Regions from separate parts of the Homo sapiens genome. Here region 1 is linked to region 2. The links are contacts of gene promoters, found by promoter capture Hi-C in blood cells and fetal thymus (Javierre and others, 2016). All regions are on one chromosome and are shown on one strand. Each heading gives the region's core, a stretch centred on a gene start or on the middle of the fragment in contact. The rest is flanking DNA. Distances are from core to core; before and after follow the strand shown.

Region 1 (5,050 bases), core at 1,746-4,245, 1.1 Mb after region 2:
TGGAATCCCAGCACATTGGGAGGCCGAGGCGGGTAGATCACTTGAGGTCAGGAGTTCAAGACCAGCCTGGCGAACATGGTGAAACCCTGTCTCTACTAAAAATACAAAAATTACCCAGGCGTGGTGATGCACACTTGTAATCCCAGCTACTTAGGAGGCTGAGGCAGGAGAATCGCTTGAACCTGGGAGGTGGAGGTTGCAGTGATCCGAGATTGTGCCACTGCACTCCAGCCTGGGTGACAGAGCGAGACTCCATCTCAATAATAATAATAATAATAACTTAGCTGGGCATGGTGGTGTGCACCTATAGTCCCAGATACTCAGGAAGCTGAGGTGGGAGGATGGCTTGAAGCCAGGAGTCCAGGTTGGGCAACATAGTGAGACCCCATCTCTACAAAATAATTTTTAAAAACTTAGCTGGGCATGGTGGTGTGTACCTGTAGTCCCAGATACTCAGGAGGCTGAGGCGGGAGAATGGCTTGAGGCCAGGAGGTCAAGGCCTGGCCACTGCACTCCAGCCTGTAGGACAGATCCAGACCCTGTCTCTGAAAATAAAAAAAAGTTTGTGCTTTATTTTGAGGATTTATGCAAGGAGTGGAGCACCAGAGAAGTAAGGCAGGGGGGACAGTTGGGTGTTTTATGAAGCTTCCTTTGGCTACTCTGTGAAGGTGGAAAGGAAGGGTCCAGGAATGGAGGCTGATAGCCCAGAGGGAGTTGGAGGAGGAACTGTAAGGAGGGGAGGAGAGAGTGGGTGTGAGGAATGCCTGGGAGCCTGCGTGGACAGTTGGTGAGGGGTGGAGGGGAGGCATCAGAAAGAAGCATACGGCTGTAACCCGGGGACAGAGTTACACTAGTGCTTCAGGAGGGAGGCTGAGGCTGCAGTGAGCCAAGGTGCGCCACTGCACTCCAGCATCCACGACGGAGTGGGACCCCGTCTCAAAAACAAAAACCCAAATGCAGTAGGGCTTTCCTGAGTTGTGGACCCTATAGGAGGCGCAGGTTTTGGAGGAGGAAGGGGAAGAATTGCTCCTTCCTAATTATGTCCTTTTTTGGAACCTACTGTCCCTTTCTTTTTTTCCCAGGGACACCTTCCCTAGGCCTGGGTGAGCTAAGACACTTCTCTCTCCCTACCTCCAACCCACACCACCCACCTACCTATTCCCCTCCCATTTATCCTGCAAACATCAGGATGACTTGGTTGACAAACTCCAACCGGCAAGAACTGGTCTGAGGAGGCTTAAACCTCCCTTCCCAGAGGTGGCCTGGAGAAAACTGCCTCCTCCCCTTAGGGAAACTCGTTGTAGGGGCGGAGCATTACGGGTGTGGGCTTTCAGGACACTAGCAGTGTCTTCTTTCTGCCTTATTTTTCTGTCACATTCCTGAGCATTTAGCAAACTTTCACTGGGACCTGCTACGTGTCCAGCCCTGTGCTAGGTGATCCTGCAGACCAAGAGGTGGTTGACAGAGATATCCTTGGTACCTGCCCTCGGCGGGGCGTTCCTCAGTCCATATAGTAACTGACAGTCCAGGACTGGGATGGCGGCACAGGAGGCCATGGAATCCTAGAATGGATCCTAACCCAACCTGGACTGCCAGGGAGGGCTTCGGAGAGGAGGAAACCTTTGAAATGTGTTCTGAGAAGCAGCCTGGGAATTGAGGGTATATTTTGAGGATGAGGAAACAAGTTTAAATATCCAGAGGCGAGAAGATTGCTTGAGGCCAGGAGTTCAAAACCAACCTGGGCAACACAAGAAAACCCCCCTCCCCCCTCCCCCATCTCTCTGTCACCCAGGCTGGAGTGCAGTGGCACGATCTCGCCTTCACTGCAACCTCAACCTCCCAGGTTCAAGCGATTCTCCTGCCTCAGCCTCCCAAGTGGCTGAGATTACAAGCGTGCGCCACCACGCCCAGCTAATTTTTGTATTTTTAGTAGAGACGGGGTTTCACCATTGTTGGCCAGGCTGGTCTCAAACTCCTGACCTCAAGTGATCTGCCCGCCTCCGCCTCCCAAAGTGCTGGGATTACAGGCGTGCGCCACTGCGCCCGGCAAAAAATAATATTAATAATAAAGATCCAGAGGCCTTTTATTGTCATGTTTGCGAACTTATTATGTACCTGGCATTGTTGTAGACACTGGGGTAAAGCAGGGAAGAAAACAAACAGAGAAAATCCTTTCGTTTTCCTGATGGGGTGAATGGGAGCTTGAAGCCATTTTAGAAAAACTGGAAGTGACTCAATGGGGCAGGATCGGAGAGAACCAGGAGAACGCATCAAGCAAGGTCGTGAGGGGCTTTGTGGCAAAAGGAAGGAGTTTGAAGTTTGTATTCGGGGTGGGTAGGAAGCCATGAACAGTAGCAGAGGAGTCATCTTGATGGAGCGGGGAAGGAAAGAGGGTGTCAGAAGACCCAGGTGGGACCACCAGAGGACGTGCTGAGAAAACCTGAGGATTAAGAAGGGGCCGCGCGGTAACGTATAGGGGGCGGGAGGGGCAGCAAGGGGGCGAGGCTACGATCGCCTAGGCAACGCGGGCCGCGCCACTCTATTGGCTGGTCTTCCGCTACGTCATCCCCCGCGCCCCAGCGTCCTCCCTCGGAACCCCGGGGGCGCGGCCTCCTCCGGTTGCTCGGCCCCGCCCGCCTGCACAGCGACTTGGGGAGGGGCATGCCAGCCCCTCTGGCTCCACGGTGGAGTCCAGGCCTACCATAAAGGAACCGCAGGGAGCAATGGTGACGATCTTGGAGCGAGGACTGTAGCTGAGTGGAAGGAAGCGGTTCTGTTGGACCGGCCGCCCTCCACCCCGGAGTCGCTGCCCCGCCCCCTGCCAGTTGCACTTCTTTAAATGGCCCGGGGCGCTAGGGAGGGGTGGGCGGATCCGGCGTCTCGGGGCACGGGCGGATGGCTCCGCCCAGCCAATCGACGCCCCGCGGCGGGCGGGACTCCAGCCAATCGCGGCTCGCGGCTCGGCTCCGGGGCGGGGCTGGTGGGCCAGAGGCCAGACGGAGAGGCCCCGCCGAGGTGAGCGAGGCTCCAACCGGTCACTGGTGGGTCCTGGCACTGGCGGGTCGCAACGCTGTGGGCGTTCCAGGAGGTGGTCGTGGCGAACCTGGCAGCTGCGGTGAGGAGTGGTCGCCTGGCTTGGGAATTTACCTTAGGCTGGGGGAGAGAGAAGCGCGCCCCGGGGACTTGCGGAGGCGGGGTCTGGGTGGGACCGGGGGAGGGGGCCTCAGATTCAGGGTGATGATAGGGAGGGTCTGGGGACCTGAGACTGAGTTCAAGACCCAGGAGGGGAGGCGAGGTTGTTGGGGCAGTATTTTCAAGTGGAGGGAGTTTGAAGCTGGGACGTTGGGCTTTTGGAGAAGCGAGAGAACAGAGGGGAGGAACTTTTGAGACAGGGAACCTGGAGATTCGATTCCACTTGGGTCTTCCGGACGGGTTGAATTCGGGGCTTTATCGTGTTCTGGAAAAGGTGTGAGAGGTACGGAGCTGAGATTCTGAGTATTTGGAGAAGCGAGAGAACTAGGGTCAAGGATTCTTGGGACTCCAAGACGCACTGGCGGGGGAAGGAGGTTGCCGGGAAGAGTTCAATGTTCGGGTCTTGGAGCCGGACAGCGAGTTTGGAGGTGAAGTCCAGGGGCGTTTGAAAGTCAGGAGACTAGGAGAAGTGGGAGGAAGTATCAGAATTAGGATACGTAGTCTCCCGAACTAGATCGGAGCATTGTCGTCTTTGAGCGATGTGTTCGGATCTGGGTCTCTGGATCCAAGGGCAGTTTGGAAGGAGAATCGCGGACTTTCAAGGAACAGAGGGACCGGGAGAAAGCAAATTTAGAGCCGGAGTCTGGGGTGGGGGAGGGGTGTTCCGGGCCTGGAGCTCAGACTCGCGGCCCCGGAGGCAATGGAGGGCGGGGCTCGGCAGGCGCCGGCAGCTGGACGTCCAGGTTCCCTTCCCCCACCCGCCTGTGCCCCTGTGCGCATGCCCTGAGGGAGAGCGGGGTGAGGGGGGTGGCTCGTCCCCTGGACGGGCGGAGCCCTCTGGGGATTGTAGTGCGTGCTCGACGTCAATTCGTGTACCTGGCGGCTGTTGGCCCCCGTTTCCCAGAAGCCCCTGGGCCAAATTGGGGCGTTCCTGGATGCTCTGTAAGGACCCATGGGGGGGCGGGGCCTTACAGTGTCGCGGTCTGATTGAGTGGGACCTCCGAGGGGGCGGGGCTTGGTCTGAGCTGAGTTCTAGCAAGTTTTCCTATGGGGCGCGCTTTGGGGGAATCTGAAAGCGTGGGCAGAGGGAATGAGACAGGCCCCTTTCCTACTCTTGGGAGCGCTCCCAGTCGGTTAAGGAAGAGGACATAGAAATATCCCGACTGTTGAAGAAGAATCTCAACATAGGTTCCCCAACAGGGCTCCAGGAGATTTCGAATATAGTAGGCACTCAGTAAATCTGTTGAGCGAATAACTGGCAATTAACTCTTGATCGAGGCCGGGTGTGGTGGTAATCCCAGCTACTCAGGAAGCTGAGGCGGGAGGATCGCTTGAGCCCAGGACTTCGAGACTGCAGTGAGCTGTGATAGCGCTGCTGCACTCAGCCCTGGGCGACAGAGCGAGACCCTGTCTCTAACAAAAAACAAACACAACTCTTGTTCATTAAGCACTTCCGGTGTGGTGGGCCCTATAGATACGTGGCATCTCCTTGACAGAGGTGGTGAGAAGTATTTTTTTACAGTCCCTATTTTACAGATGAGGAAACTGAGGCCCTGAGAATTGACTCATTCAGATCACTTCCCATGATCACGCAGCTGAGCAGTTTCCAATACAGAATTCAGATTTGGGGTTCCCTACTTCCAATCCAGGTCTCTGTGCTCCACACTTGTCTTTCGTGCTCCATGTTTGAAGAAATTAATATTGTGGAAGAACAGTTTTAAGGCTTAGAGGAACTTGAGTTAGGATCCGTACTTGGCAGATGAGGAAATTGATTCTCATGGATGTAAATTCACTGTTTGAGGCCACAACAGGCAAGTAAGTGAGATTTAAATCTAGCTGTACGTAACGCCAGATCTTA
Region 2 (5,050 bases), core at 2,281-4,780:
TCTGTAGGAGGGGCAAGAGTGAGACTGGGCTTGTTTGGGATGAAGATTTCTAGGAGGGGCCAGGTGAGAGGCTGAAGCTGGATACGGAGGTTGGGGTGGACCCAGAGGAGCAGGGCTTGAGGGAGCTGGCACGTCAGCTGGGGGTGCGTCTGGGACTCGTGTCTTTAATTCCCTGGGCTTGACCCTGGCAGCCTTCCCCGAGACAGCAAACAGGAGGGCTGGAACAATCCTACATGTCAGCAAAGGTCTGGATTGCTTTGCAAGGTATAGAAAGCCTGCACATTTGGGGCCTCAGACCATGTGTCCTCACATCCAGAGAAAAGTTCTAATTGCAGGATGGTATTGAAATGAATGGTCCCTTCCTGAAGCCAAGCCAGTCCTTCCTGTAAACCATAATTTGGCCAAACCTATGTGCGGAGGGCTATGAGATGCTTTTCCTCTGGATTCTGAGGGTCAAAACAGTCCCAATGGTTCAGGATACACTCAAGGGGAGTACAAGCTGGGGGTGGTGAGGAGAACTGGCTGCCCATTCTGAAAGACAGGGAATAGAGGTGTTCCTCATTTCCCTTCCTTCTTTTGGCAAAAAGCTCAGGGTGTGATGGGGAGGGAAAGCAAGCATCTTCACTTCACTTTCCACCTCTTACCCCTGCGCCCTGGCAACCTTGGCAGGTGCCGGCCACAGGTACAAATGCGGTATGTACCCATGAAGCAGGGAGAACCTGGAGATTAGGAATTAACTGCCCTCACCTATGTTTCCTTTTCTCCCTGCTGTTGAAAAACTTTGAGTTCCCTGGGCCTTTTTATCCCATGAGGCATGGCCTCCTTCTGTGGGATGGGGTTCAGTCAGCAGGAATTGGTCCTGTCCATTTACATTGTGCCTGTTGCCTGGCTTTGAATTCCTCAGACCTGCTTTCTCTTTCTAGGGCCTCAGCCTGAAGCTTGGAATTGAGTTTGGGACTGAAAAAGCATTTCAGAGGCTGTTTATATCCATTTAGTGCCTCAAATAAGCCCTGCTGAATTTGCAATTATCAGCCAGCAGGGGTCACTCCTCTGTTAACTTCCCTATTAGAAACAGAGCGGTGGGGATTCTCACTTAGAAAAGAAAAAAAGAGAAAAACAGTTAAAGAGGCAAAAAGTGGGGAATGCTGGGGGAAGAACCCCTTGCTTAGTGCAAGTGGGCCCCTCTAATCCTTATAACTTTCCCATCCTTCCCCCAGTTCAGACCAGGTTGAATTCCTTGGCCATGGAAGGAAAGGTTCCATTGATGCAGTGGGTGAGAAGCACTCTGTAGGGTCCTGGCTACCATCGGTTTTCTCACACCCCCCTCATCCCAGGCAGTGGAGGGAGACACTTCTGCGACATTGCTCCCCCTGCCCCTTCATGGCTATTGGGTGTGGCCTTTGCCTGCTGCAGGCATGCCTAGGTGCTGGAGCTGGGAGGGAAAAGGGTAAGGAGAGGTGCCCTGGAAGCCGCTCATGCCTGGGGCTGTCAAGGTGGAGGCATACATGGCACCTCTAGGAAAAATTGGTCTGATTTGCACCTTTGGCGGCTGAGCCAAATGCTCATTTTACTTAGTAACATTGCCTCAGCCTGTAGCAAAACTCTTAACATTATAAAGGAAGAGATAAGATCCATTTCAAATAATGTGTGAGAGAGAAAAGAGATGAAAGGAAAACAGAGTCTTTTACCTGCAGGAAAGGGAGAGAAGTGGCAGAGTTTTGGAAGAAAGGCAGGCCCAACAGTTTCCCATTCACTCACACTCACCTTCCGAGATCCCAGACGAGCCACCAGTTGAAATGGGAAAAGTTTCCTTGTCCCCCTCACAGGAGGTGGAGTGGGGGTGTGGCTTGCTTCTTTAGTACTCCGCTGCTCAAACCTCTAGGGAAGCATACAGACTGGCAAGTTGTGGGGCTACAACCCCATGGCAGCATCTAGGGGTAGATGTTTACAGCTGCTGAAGCCCCAGTGGACATGTGGTACCATGTGCTCTTTTAGTTTTGCCATCTATAGGTGGCTTTGTGGTAACCAGCTCAATTAGACCCATTCCTTAACCCAAAGACAGAGGGCTTTCTGTATCCCGCGGTTGTTACCTAGGTGTACCAGAAAAATCAAATCACACGTGGTCTTGGAGAATGAGTGCAAGGTTTTATTGAGTGGAAGTAGCTCTCAGCAGATGGGGGAGCCAAAAGGGAGAATAGTTTTCCCCTGAAGTCGGGTTATTCAGCGGCCCAGGCTCTCCTCTGGCTGCCCCAGCCAAACTCTATGTCAATCCATTGGTCGGTGGCCTGCCAGAGTGCTGGTGCCTGTTGGTGGATTCCTCTCAGCGTCGAGAGTTTTTCCCTCTCAGGAAAGGGAGAGAAGTGGCAGCCACCCATGTGTTCTTGCACTGATGTGCTCCTCTCGACGTCCAACCTCCTGTGTGTCTGCCTGCTAGGGTCCCAGGGTTTTTTTAGGCACAGGATAGGGCATGGTGGGCCAGGGTGATCTTGGGAAATGCAACATTTGGTCAGGAAAACAAAAATGCCTGTCCTCATCTAGGTCCAGGGGCACAAGCCCAGGTTTGGAGCCCTAGCCAGGGACCCCGGCCTCCTCTACCCATCACTTTCCTTCACCTTTTCTGTATCATTCAAAGGGACCATGCCCTTCCCTTCCCAGCACTTCTCTTCTGTATCAATAGGTGATGTTTTTAAAATTTCCCAACTCTAGTGCAGGCATGGTACTAGACATATACATAGAAATAAAACCACACTTATTCTTCTGGCTGGCAAGACATAGTATTTTTGCCAAATTATGTGTTGTTTTGAAGCATTTTATGTACCCCTGGTCATATAAAAATAAAGCTATTTTGTTCAGTACAAACAGCAGCATTTTCTGGATTAGAAAGTTAATCATCTTAAAAGATCATCACGGATTTTTCCATTGCACTCATCACTAATTGCTTTGGCAAAAAATTTCTTATCTCACGCATGACAAAATCAGCCGCAGTATCTCCTAGTAATTTAATGGTGATGATCTTTATAAAGGAAATAAGCACATCAAGGGAAAACATAATTTTTTTAAAAAAAAGAGTAATAAAACTTTTTAAAAGTCTTTTTTAAAAGACTGCTTTTCTAAAATAGTAAAATAAAACTCCACCAATAAAACCACCAACAAAACAGAAAAGAAAAAATAATGATATGATCGGAGCTATTTGATGAAAGATGGTAAATTAAATTTAAAATGATTAGAAGAGAAAAAGCAATACCTGTCTCCCGTAGGTCTCAGTCCAGGTTCTGCTATGCCTTTCTCCTGGTGAGCCACCTATTTAAGAGTCGCTTAAAGCATATGTTAATCCAACAACAGCAGATTAAAAACCAATGCAATCTGAACTATTTGATCTAAAAACATAAATAAAATTTAAAACAAATAAAAGAGAAAAAGCAGTACCTGTGTCCTGTAGGTCTCAGTCCAAGATCTGCTCTGACTCCCTTGTGGTGAGTTAGCCCTTTAGAAGTCACTTGGGGTGGGGCATATGTTAATTCCACTAACATTGGTTCTGGCCAATGAGTCAGGAAGGTGGTAAATGGCACCTTTTCTTCTTGCTGATTTCTTTCAGTTCCTTTGGAGTCTGGACATTAGTCCTTTGTCAGATGCCTAGTTTGTGACTACTGTTTCCTATACTGTGGGTTGTGTGTTTACCCTGCTGATATTTCTTCTGCCTTGCAGAAGATTTTCGGTTTCATTAGGTCCTATTGATCTTATTCTATTTTTATATTTTTGCGTTTGCTTTTGGGGCATTAGTCATGACTACTTGGCCTAAGCCAATGTCTAGAAAAGCTTTTTGGATGCTATCTTGTAGCATTTTTAGACTTTCAGGTCTTAGATGGAAGTTTTTATATGCTTTGTTAAAGATCAGGTGACTGAAAGTACCGGGCTTTGTTTCTCGGTTCTCTATTCTGTTCCATTGCTCTATGTGCCTATTTTTATACTTCCTGCACCATTTATTGAATAAAGTGTCCTTTCCCCAATTAGTGTTTTTGCATACTTTGTTGAAGATTAGTTGTCTGTAAGCATTTGGCTTTATTTCTGGGTTCTCTATTCTGTTCCATTGCTCTATGTGCCTATTTTTATACTTCCTGCACCATTTATTGAATAAAGTATCCTTTCCCCAATTAATGTTTTTGTGTACTTTGTTGAAGATTAGTTGTCTGTAAGCATTTGGCTTTATTTCTGGGTTCTCTATTCTGTTCTATTGCTCTATGTGCATATTTTATACCAGTATCATGCTATTTTGGTGATTGTAGCCTTGTAGTATAATTTAAAGCCTGCCTTCAGATTTGTTCTTTTTGCAAAGTATTGCTTTGGATATGCGGTCACGTTTTTGGTTTTGTATAAATTTTAGGATTCTTTTTTCTAGTTCTGGGAAGGAGAATGATGATATTTTGATGAGAATTCTACTGCTCTGTAGATGGCTTTGGAGAGTATGGTCACTTTCACAATATTGATTCTACCTATTCATAAGCTTATAATGTGTTCCCATTTGTTTGTGTCAACTGTGATTTCTTTCAGCACTATTTTGTAGTTTTCCTTGTAGGAAACTTACATTAACCTACTTGGTTAAGTATATTTCTAAGTATTTTACTTATTAAAAATTCTCAGGGAAATGCAAAGTAAAACTGAGGTGGGAAATTAAAGAAAAATAAAATTAAAAAGAAAGGGAAATAAGCTTTCTTGTATTAAGCTAACTTGTCCCAGAGGCAGCAACAGGCACAGCCCAGACCCAGGAAAAGTCTTGATAATATTATTTATTGTATTCTGGAGACTCTTCCAGCACTCCTTCAATGTAGGGAGAAGAAAAACAAATTTTCCTTTGTTTTATGGTATGAGTTTATAGATTCTTGTTCTCTTTAACTAGTAACTTCAAGTATTCTGTTTTATCTAAGAAGTATGGCAAAGGTCATGAGAAGCCTGAGCAGGCCTGAACTACAGCTCTCTAGGCACCATAGTGAAGATAAACCAATGCAAGCCTCTTTAGAGCAAAACCTAGATAATAGACATCTGGGTTGCATAG

The links. The method cuts DNA at HindIII sites, captures the fragments that hold promoters and counts their contacts. A CHiCAGO score of 5 or more calls a contact.
Region 1: the fragment with the promoter of SERTAD3 here is called in contact with the fragment with the promoter of LINC01480 in region 2 in 1 of 17 cell types (naive CD8 T cells); the score reaches 6.9 in naive CD8 T cells.

What each region holds. Positions count from the first base shown.
Region 1 is chr19:40,442,280-40,447,329 of GRCh38, reverse strand. It overlaps SERTAD3 (SERTA domain containing 3), which reads left to right and starts at 2,995. Exons shown (of 2, transcript NM_203344.3): 1 at 2,995-3,115. SERTAD3-AS1 (SERTAD3 antisense RNA 1) reads right to left here and starts at 2,813. Exons shown (of 2, transcript NR_187496.1): 1 at 2,702-2,813; 2 at 2,067-2,440. RefSeq lists silencers at 2,464-2,683, 2,744-3,063, 3,244-3,303, 3,769-4,148. The HindIII fragment of the contact is 20,405 bases long and covers 648-5,050 here.
Region 2 is chr19:41,533,978-41,539,027 of GRCh38, reverse strand. LINC01480 (long intergenic non-protein coding RNA 1480) reads right to left here and starts at 3,530. Exons shown (of 3, transcript NR_110724.1): 1 at 3,427-3,530; 2 at 3,245-3,314; 3 at 2,124-2,427. The HindIII fragment of the contact is 2,878 bases long and covers 941-3,818 here.